Linked DNA regions of Homo sapiens: all the other regions are linked to region 2. Evidence: promoter capture Hi-C in human tissues and cell types (Jung and others, 2019). All regions are on one chromosome and are shown on one strand. The core of a region is centred on a gene start or on the middle of the fragment in contact, and the rest is flanking DNA. Distances in the headings are between cores, read along the strand shown.

Region 1 (3,162 bases), core at 380-2,879, 550 kb after region 2:
ATCCTTAATGATAAGAGAAAGTGTTCATGATGTATTATATCAGAATGTTTATAGGCATAAAAAGATGAAGAATAAAGAATTCAGAAAAAACACAAAAAGTTAACAGTGGTTTTCTCTCTTAAGTATAAAATAAAGGTACTTTTTTGTCTGTTAGTGTTTCTCTGTGTTTTCCTATTGTGCTGATGTGAGCTTGCACTGCTTTTGTAATTAAGGATAAATTTTATTTATGCATTTATGTATTTATGTATGTATGTATTTAAAAAAATTAAAGGTTGTATATAAAAATAGTTATTAAGTGGAGACACTTAAGAATAATACACACTTCTCTAAATAAAACGGAAAAGCCTACTTGCTGCTTGCTTGTTGCAGGTAGAATTGACCCGATCCCCTGCAGAAATCCCTGCCCTCTCCTCTCTGTCCCAGGAATGCCACGCTGCCCTTCACGCTGGCATGCTGCCTGTCGGTTCTGTGCTATTCCTTAGTGACCTGTAGATTCATTATCTGTGTCTCCACAACCTTGTCCTTTTAGATTTGCATATGTGTTAAGTCCAATCATTAAATCCAGTGATTTTTCAAAATAGCAAAAGTAGGTGTATAAGTTTCCAACATGTGTATAATTTGAAGCTGAGGAATGACTAAGAATGAAAGAAACTCAGTTTGTTCCACTCAGTGGGCTGCATGTGCCTATGGAGTTTCACTTGAAGCAAACTCTCTCGAGGCAAACCTGCTGGCCTCACCACCTCAGACCCCGCCTGAATGTTCATGGGAGAGACTTGGTGTTGGGTCCAGTTTTGAGCTTTTTTGAAGGGACAGGGAGAGCCTGGAATATGACTTCCTTTAAAAACAAAAGGTAGTTGTAGGCAAGGTCGGGTTTTTTTTTTGTATTTTCTAGAATAAAAATTTATATTTTTTTTAGAGTATAGACTTGCTTCTCCCTGGAGGGCCACACAGTGACTCATCTGACTGCTTCTGCAAGCTGGTGCATAGATCATGCCAGACCAGCTTGGGTCTGCTAGTTAAGCTGCAGGAGATTGCATCATAGGATTTACTGCACGCGTCTTTAATGGAAGTGTTGTCGCCAACGTGAACTTCTTTGCTTATCAACCTATCCAAGAAGCATCCACAGCAGGGAACAAAAAGTACCTGATGGGAACTTGCTGGGGAAACTGGCCTCCCAGAGTCACTGAAGTTGCCAACATTGCATTAGGAAAAAAAAAAAAAAAAGAGGAGGCTAAAAATACAACAACAAAAAAAAGGTGGAAATGAACTTTTGTAAAATGTGAGCAAAACCAAAGCAATCTTCGGCTGCGGAATAAACACAGAGGTGGTGAAACAGGAACTAGTAGGTATACATTTTGGCCGTGTGCTCAAAAGTGAATTTGCAATTGCCCCTTCTCTCCCACTCCCAACTGGCCCTCCCCTCCCCCATCCTTTTCTTCATATTGTATAGAAATTCTTCAAACCTCAAATACTATATCTAATATTTTTAAAAAATCATGATGTTCTTCGGATGTTAAAAGTCTAAATGGGCCGGGCGTGGTGGCTCATGCCTATAATCCCAGCACTTAGGGAGGCCGAGGCGGGTGGATCACCTTAGGTCGGGAGTTTGAGACCAGCCTGACCAACATGAAGAAACCCCATCTCTATTAAAAATACAAAATTAGCCGGATGTGGTGGTCCATGCCTGTAATCCCAGCTACTCGGGAGGCTGAGTCAGGAGAATCTCTTGAACCTGGGACGCGGAGGTTGCAGTGAGCCGAGATTGCACCACTGTACTCCAGCCTGGGCAACAAGGGTGAAACTCTGTCTCAAAAAAAAAAAAAAAAAAAACAGTGTAAATAAAGGCACCTATCCTTACGGGGCTTGTGGGAGGGTTGAGGGAAGGACTACAGTCTCCTTTTATCTTGTGTTTATCTTTAGTTTTAGCAAACATTCTATAAGGTATGTTTTGTATCATATTCAGCCACATGAAAAACACAAATTTGCATTTCGATTTTGTTCACAAAATTTGGGACACAAGTCGTTTATCACTTTTAACATCCTGAAGTTGAACTGGTGCAGCAGTAGTATCGTTATGCTTGTTAGCCTTCATAATCCTTCCTAAGCAATAAAATACCCATGTGGTCGAATCCCAGGACACGTTGAATTACAAGCTCCAAGTTTTTCCGCTGCAGCGTATCCAAGTGTGCTTGGAAAGAAGAACAAAATTAAACATGCTATTTAGAGCTTTCAGGGCTAACTAGATTTTGATGTTGTCATTGTAGCAAATAGTTCTAGAGTGTGGAAGAAGTTGAAAATGTTTTTATGATACAGAGATTTTTATTGTACTGCATATTTAATGAATTATTTTATAAATTGCTGTTGTGAAGCATTTGTGAATGACCTGCCTCCTAGCTTTCAATGCTATTGCCCAGGCTGACTTTTATTGCAACTGTTTTATGATACAGTTTTGCATTGTATGTGTTTACTTTTTAAAGAAGCATTTCCTGGGAGGTTTCTTTTTCTGGTTATGAAAATAATATATGCTTATGGGGAAAAATTGGAAAATAGAAACAAGTATCTAGAAGAAAAATCACTCATAATTCCAGCACCCTGTTAATACTTTGTCTTTTCTTACAGTTTCTAATATGTGCATGCATAGTATATCAATGTGGTTTTACAAAGAGTGTGCAAATTATGATTCTCTTTTTTACATCATTCATGCCATTCTGCATTTTCCACTTAATACTATACTATTGGTACTTTACCAATCCCTTAAGTATTCTCGTACATAGCATTTAAAGGTGAAATCTACCACCTCCTATTTTTAATATTTATGTTGTTTTGACTTTTCAGTATAATAAATCATGTTTATATGTAAAGGTTTTTATCTCCGGTTATTACTGTAGAATAGATTTCTGGAAGTATAAGAACAGGAGACATAAATATTTTTAGGTCATTGATACATAATTTGAAAATGACTCCTAGAAAGATTTTAACAATTTGTGTTCTACCAACAGTGTTTGAGGGTGTCTTTTTCTCATTGTCTCACCAGTAAATGACAATTGTAATTTGTTTATTTGCAAGGCAAAAAAAAAAAAATTGCAATTTGATAGTTAAAGAGATTAAACATTTTCTCAGATTTTTATTTTGTAATTTGTATTTCTTTTTAGTGAAGCTCTT
Region 2 (3,085 bases), core at 309-2,808:
TGCAAATTCTCCGGTCCGCGTATCGCAACCACCCCCCTCCAGGCTCCGCCCAAGTCGGAGCCACGGCTCAAGTCCCCGACTCTCCTCCTTTGTCATGGCGGATCTGTGTCAGGGAGCCCAACCTACTGCAGAGTGTTAATTCCTCCCCCCGACCGGAGCCAGAGGGAGGAGCAGCCCGCGCCCCCGCCCAAGCCGTGGGGGGGGGGGAGAGATGGGGAGCGAAGCCGCCCGACCCCGGGGCAGAGACGCCACAGCAGCCCGCAGAAGCGGAACCACTACCAGCCCCGCCGCGGACACACCCCGCTCTCCCACCCAGCGCCTTCCCCGCCACCGATCAGCGCCGGTGACCGTGTACAGCGTCTCTAAGGGACCGACAGCTGCAGGTGGGGGAGGGGACGAGAGCCACACCCAGCCGAGCGGGCCACCAGCGGCTATGCTCAGGCTCACCCGCCCCCAAAGCAGGATATGCGTCCCCAAACCGAGCGCAGGGACCCTCCAGTTCTAGTCCATCAAGCACGGGAGCCGACTGCGGGCTCACCACCCTGTTCTCTACCCCGACCTGGACTTGCAGCCCCCGTCCACACCTCCCCCGCCCGTTCACAAGGAGCAAAAAAAGTCAGACCCATCCCCCACCCCCACCAGGAAAATTCAAGTCCTTCCTCCCACCGCGGAGCCCAGGAAATTCAGCTCTAGGTCCCAGGCGAGCCCCACCCCAAAACCTCACCCCGCAGTGGACTCCCCTCCCGCCGGCGCGCAGCCTCGCCCCGGTCTACCTGGCGGGCGCCGCCGCGCCAGGCCTGGGCTCCGGCCCGCTCTCGGCCAGGCCTTTCCCTCGCGCTTGGGTCCCCGAGGCCCCCGGCCCCTCCCCGCCGCGCCACCGCCTCCCGGGGTGGGGGAGGGCCGGGTCCCGCCGCCGCAGCGCCCAGCGCGGAGGCTGCGCGAGGGGGAGGGAAAGGAGGGGGCGGCCGAGGGAGAGGGGAGGGGGCGGCCTCACCTGCGCCACTGCGATGCCCGCCGCCGCCGCCGCCGAGTCATTATCTCGGGCGGAAGCGAGAAGGGCGGCGAGGGAGGGGGTGGAAGCCCGCAGAGACAAGGGTGGGGATGGATCGCGGCCGGCGGCGCCCCGGCCATGCCTCGTCCACCTTCGGGAGCCGGCGACAGGGAGATCCCCAGGGATCTCGCGTGTGGGCGCCCTACCCACCCCCGGGGGCAGGACGGGGGAGCGAGCACCGATCGGCGCCGGGGCGTCGATGCGGAAGCAAGGAGCCGGAGGCGGCCGCTAGCCGCCCTCCCGAGCCCAGCGGAAGAGGAGCCGCCGCCCGTGTCCGCTGAGGAGACTCCGCCTCAGCCCGGCGCCGCCACCGCGGGGCGAGTGGGGATGAGGGGACGGAGCGAGGACGGCTCCCACGCGTTCGGAAGGCTGGCCTGGGACAGGAAGCGAGGCGCGGCGGCGGCCGGGTTCCTCACCTGTGTCCGGAGTGGGTGGTGGCGGCGGACGGACGGGCTCAGCAGTCTCTGGGCGGCGGCGGCGGCAGCAGCGGCGAGGCTGAGACTCTGTCCCTGGATCTCGCTGCTCACAGGCTACAGCCGCTCCGCAGACACGGGGTTTCCTCCAATCACCAGCCCCGGCAGCAGGGGCACCACACGCACGATGACGTCAAACGCTGCTATGGCAACCGTTGATTGGTGCCCACAGCGATCGGGGCCCCGCGTAACCGCCGCTCCCCGGCGCTCGTCCTGCCCGCCCGCGCTGGAGGGCGAGCGGAGGCGCGCGCGTCCTCGCCCGCAGCCGCCACTCCTCCCACCCCGCTCGGCTTCCAGCTCCTCTACGCTTGTCCCGAGTGCACCTAGGGCAGGAGGCTGCTTTTTTCCTTTTCCTCCCCAACGCAAATCCCCCACTCCTCGCCTTCCCTTTGGGTCCCCAACGCCCTCTCTCTCCCTCTCCCCTGCAGCCTCTGCCGGCCCACTCTTCCTCTCAGCCGGCGGGAAGGCGTTCTCTCCCTACCCCCACCTTAGCTTTCGCTCAGCCCGTCTGCGCTTGCCCCAGTCACTCCCTCTGGAAGGGGCTCCCGTTCAGCAACATCCGGGACCTTTCACATCCCCCCACCCCTCCCCGAGGCCCGGCCCGCCCCACCCTCCGTGCTTCGCGGTAGTAACTGCCCCAGGGCCGTCCCCGGGCAGGATGACAAGGGTGGCTCGGCGGCTCCGGCATTGTGATCAGGACTTGCGGGGCGGGGGCCCCGGGGCGGGGGCAGGGCGCGGTCGCACGGCAAGGGAGGGTTGTGTGTGGTGCGCTGCCCCCCGCCCCGCCCGCCGCTCCCCTTCCCCGGCTGGGCCGACCGGGGCGCGCGGCCCCTCCCGGCCTCCCTCCCGCCGCCGCGGCTTTACCTGCTGGCTCGGGGGAAGCGGTCCTAGACCTTTTATGGCTCGGAAACGGGAGTGAGGCGTCCAGCCCCTGAGTGTGGCTGAGTGATGGGGAGGCGTTCCAATCGAGAGCGCGGGATCTGCGCTCGGTGACTGCGCGAGGGGACAATGGGTGGGCGCCGAGGTGGGGGCGAGGTGGGCCGGGCCGGGCGGAGCCGGCAGGAGGTGAGGCCTGGAAGGAGGCGCGGCCGCTTTAGGGAAGCCAGAGTTCCGAGGGGAAAGGACAGCCTTCTCGGGCGGAGGGCTGGAGCTGGTCCTGGCAGCCTTGACCCGGAGACAGGCAGTCAGGCGTGACCGCACGGACCCGTTTCTCGTAGGCTAGGTTTTCCTACCCAAATAAAGCTTTCACGTGAAGACCTCATACTGCACATGACGATCATTACCTTTTTATCTCCTAGAAGCAAGGTTTGAGGGACGTCGTAGTCCCCAGGGTTCCAGCTGGCGGTGGGAGTGGGCCACAGGCCGGGTGATGAGCCGGGACGGGAGCCCGGAAGAAGGGGAAGGAGAAAGGCGGAAATTGCAGGTGCCTGAACCGGTAGGGCCTCCGCCCAGTTGACTTCAGGAAGTTCAGAGAGAAACATTCACAGTGTGAATGATCTCTGCCCCTTCCCTCTTTAAATGTGTTCGGGCTAAGAAAAGATTAGTGCTTGGATGACCTGCA
Region 3 (3,151 bases), core at 600-3,099, 730 kb before region 2:
CAAAAATCTTTTGGTGACTTTCCATTGAGGACATTTCAACAGACTAAATACAAATGAATGTTGCCTAGTAATTCTCTCCTTTTTCGTTTTTCTTTTCTTTTCTTTTTTTTTGAGACAGAGTCTCACTCTATCACCCAGGTTGGAGTGCAATGGCATGATCTCTGCTCACTGCAGCCTCTGCCTCCTGGGTTCAAGCGATTCTTGTACCTCAGCCTCCCAAGTAGCTGGGATTACAGGTGTGCACCACCTAACCCAGCTAATTTTTGTATTTTTTTTTTAGTAGAAACAGGGTTTTGCCATGTTGGCCAGGCTAGTCTTGAACTCCTGGCCTCAAGTGGTCTGCCAACCTTGGCCTCCCAAAGTTCTGGGATTACATACAGGCTTGAGCCACCGTGCCTGGCCAGTTCTCTGCTTTTTCTTATCTTTGCTACTCTCACAGTCTTGAAATTGGAAGATTTTTTAGGGTCTTAACTGTGTTACCTTGAATAGATAGCCTCTTTTGTAAGCTCTGCTTCAAAAGTTCTCTGTGCTTATTTTTATACATGGGTGGTTTTTTTCCTTAATGGAATTTCCATTCATAAGTTCATATTCATTTTCAGGATTGTAGTTAAAGAAATAAATTTACTGGGCAGAAAGTGCTAAAAATTAATACAGCATCTCATCAGTTTTAGATCCCAAGCTTGGCTTAAGGCCATCTTGAATAGATAAATGGCACCTTGGTCATTGGAAGTCTTCTGTGAAGTGAAGGTAGTCACATGGTTGTGACTCTGCTCATAGAGTTAATATTACCTAAACATTAAACTAAGCTAAATTTAAGGCAGTGGTACAGGTGACAGATCCTGATGCCCACAGATCTATTTTCTAGTGTTGAAATATGTTTACTTGATTTTAATTTTATATTTTAAATAACATTTACTGTTTTAAAAAACCACTTACCTATTATAGAAAACTTAAGAAAAAACTAGCACAGCACAAAGACTATCATTAAAATCACTCACAATCCTAACACCTAGGCAGAGTGAAATTGGTTATTTTTTCAGAGAAGTGAAGCAGATTAGGTTTAACAGCATTTCTAGAGTAACTTCTATGATATGCCAGAAGGGCTCCCACAAGTGCAGCTGAGTATCTGTATGATGTGGTCTGAGTGGCAAATGACTCAAGAGTTCCTTCATTTGCAGTGTTTGTATGTGTACTGCGGTAGGCAGAGTGTAGGCTTTTGAGGGCTCACAGAGAAGTTTGCTGAGTGCCTCTCATGACCCAGGTGATCTAGGACTGGGAATATAGTGGTGCTCAGGACAGGCAATGCCAATTGCCTTCCTGAAGCTCACATTAGAAAGAACTGACCTGTGGGCATGTCACTCCTCATGTTTCTGTTTCTTCACCCACATAATGAACATATTAATATTTACCTGACAGGTTTGTTGTGAGATTAGATGGGGAAGTCTACAGTGACTAGCACATAGCAGATACTCTGTCAATGTTTCCTCATTGCTGAATCATTGTAGACAGGAATAGACAGCAGATTTCTAAGAGTATCGGAAAAACAGCAAGTTAAAGAAAGCAGCCCTTGCTCATGCTTTCCTGGAAAGTTAAATACTTGTTATATTAACTGTTTATAGCATGAGTTGAAAGAATAAATCCACCATCTTCAATGTGGACAGTCTGGTGCAGATGTTAGTTAGGTTATATAGAAAGGAGGCTCTTCATAGGATCTCTGCATGGAGGACTTCTTTGCAGCTTCTGTTGATTTTGTTAAAACCAAGAGTACTATAGTTTTCATTCATAAATACAGATTTGTGATTCCTTAACCAAAGGCTCTGCGCTGCCTTTTGACTTAACATATTTTCAGTTTACCATGGGATTATTGGGACATAACCATATTGTAAATCGAGGATTATATGTACAGTTTTTTTATTGTTTTACTTCAGAATATAATGAAGTACGTTAAATGCTGAAGTAGCTTTAAACACTTCAAACAAAACCAAAAAACACAACCATGAGATACATCTTTAGTGATATTGGAAACACTTCATAGACTAAAACGTGCAAGATGAAAATTCATAACTTAGAAGAAATCATTGTAGGTTTAGTTCCTTGATTCCCCTTTGGTCTGTTTTTGAAGCCCTTTTGCAGCAAGTGAATCATAATGAACTAATAAGTTTTAGAGTGCCGATTTTCAAAATGTGATGCAACTTTTATGGTTCTGTACTTTATTATTAAATACATAGGTGCAAATAAGAATTTTCATTTTAATCTGTCAACGACAATCTGTTGAAACCCTGCTGTGTGCCTTGTGCCATGCTGCTCTGTTAGGGGACTGGGGAGGCCAGGACATGCTGCCAGGGAGCTCCCGGCTCAGTGGGAAAGAGTAAATGCAGAGTGCTTTGCTACTGGTTTAAAAGAAAGGAACACAAATATGATTGCTTTCTTACTCTGGGTTTGCCTTTCTGGCATGTTGCCTGGTTCCCAAGACGAAGTCTCGGATGTGTACATATTTGAGAGTTCAGTACTGCAGTATCTATTCAGTGAAGTATAAACGAAAGAGCATTTTTCAAAACAAATGGTATGTAATATTTTTGTCTTCTTTAGGGCTCTGGAACTTCATCCATTCTCTATGAAACCTCTTCTGAGGCGGGCGATGGCCTATGAAACTCTAGAGCAGTATGGGAAAGCTTATGTGGATTATAAAACAGTGTTGCAGATAGACTGTGGACTCCAGCTAGCAAATGACAGTGTTAACAGGTAATTAATCTGAGGCAGCTACCTAAAATCTAGTTGTTTTATACTGTTTTTCCCTTCCCCTCCTTCAAGAACATGTCAAAATATAGATGTGTTATCAGTTACTTTTATCACCTGAATGATTGCCTTCTTTTATTCCATTACATCAAATGGTTCTCTCCCTTAACTTAATTTCTGACTCTCCCTTAATTAATTCTGACTTGTCCTCTAATGCCTTTGTATTTGTTTTCTGATCCATTTATTACTGTTCAATCAGTATTTTTTTTTGGTCTTAGTAACACAGGATATAACTCATATGTGCTGCTTAAATATATGTGGTGATAAGAGGGTATTTACATAGATATCATAAAATCAGTACTAGTAGCTGGGTGCGGTGGCTGATGCCTGTAATCCTAGCACTTTGGGAGGCCAA

Evidence for each region. Contacts are between HindIII fragments. The study calls those that stand out against the background at their distance.
Region 1: a fragment that was not itself captured here is called in contact with the fragment with the promoter of YWHAZ in region 2 in 1 of the 25 tissues and cell types used here (mesendoderm cells).
Region 3: a contact is called between a fragment that was not itself captured here and the fragment with the promoter of YWHAZ in region 2, in 1 of the 25 tissues and cell types used here (lymphoblastoid cells).

What each region holds. Positions count from the first base shown.
Region 1 is chr8:101,503,768-101,506,929 of GRCh38, forward strand. All of the region lies in intron 1 of GRHL2 (grainyhead like transcription factor 2), which reads left to right. Among named protein-coding and RNA genes, the nearest start is that of GRHL2-DT, 13 kb to the left of the region's middle. The HindIII fragment of the contact is 8,369 bases long and covers 1-3,162 here.
Region 2 is chr8:100,950,462-100,953,546 of GRCh38, forward strand. It overlaps YWHAZ (tyrosine 3-monooxygenase/tryptophan 5-monooxygenase activation protein zeta), which reads right to left and starts at 1,559. Exons shown (of 6, transcript NM_145690.3): 1 at 1,468-1,559. RefSeq lists enhancers at 1-797, 424-503, 1,656-2,514, 2,794-2,903, 2,914-3,043 and silencers at 84-303, 694-1,463, 1,694-1,953, 1,974-2,653. The HindIII fragment of the contact is 8,101 bases long and covers 166-3,085 here.
Region 3 is chr8:100,217,690-100,220,840 of GRCh38, forward strand. SPAG1 (sperm associated antigen 1) reads left to right here. Exons shown (of 19, transcript NM_003114.5): 13 at 2,590-2,742. LOC105375669 (a long non-coding RNA gene) reads right to left here and starts at 2,594. Exons shown (of 3, transcript XR_928450.3): 1 at 1,410-2,594. The HindIII fragment of the contact is 4,864 bases long and covers 1-3,151 here.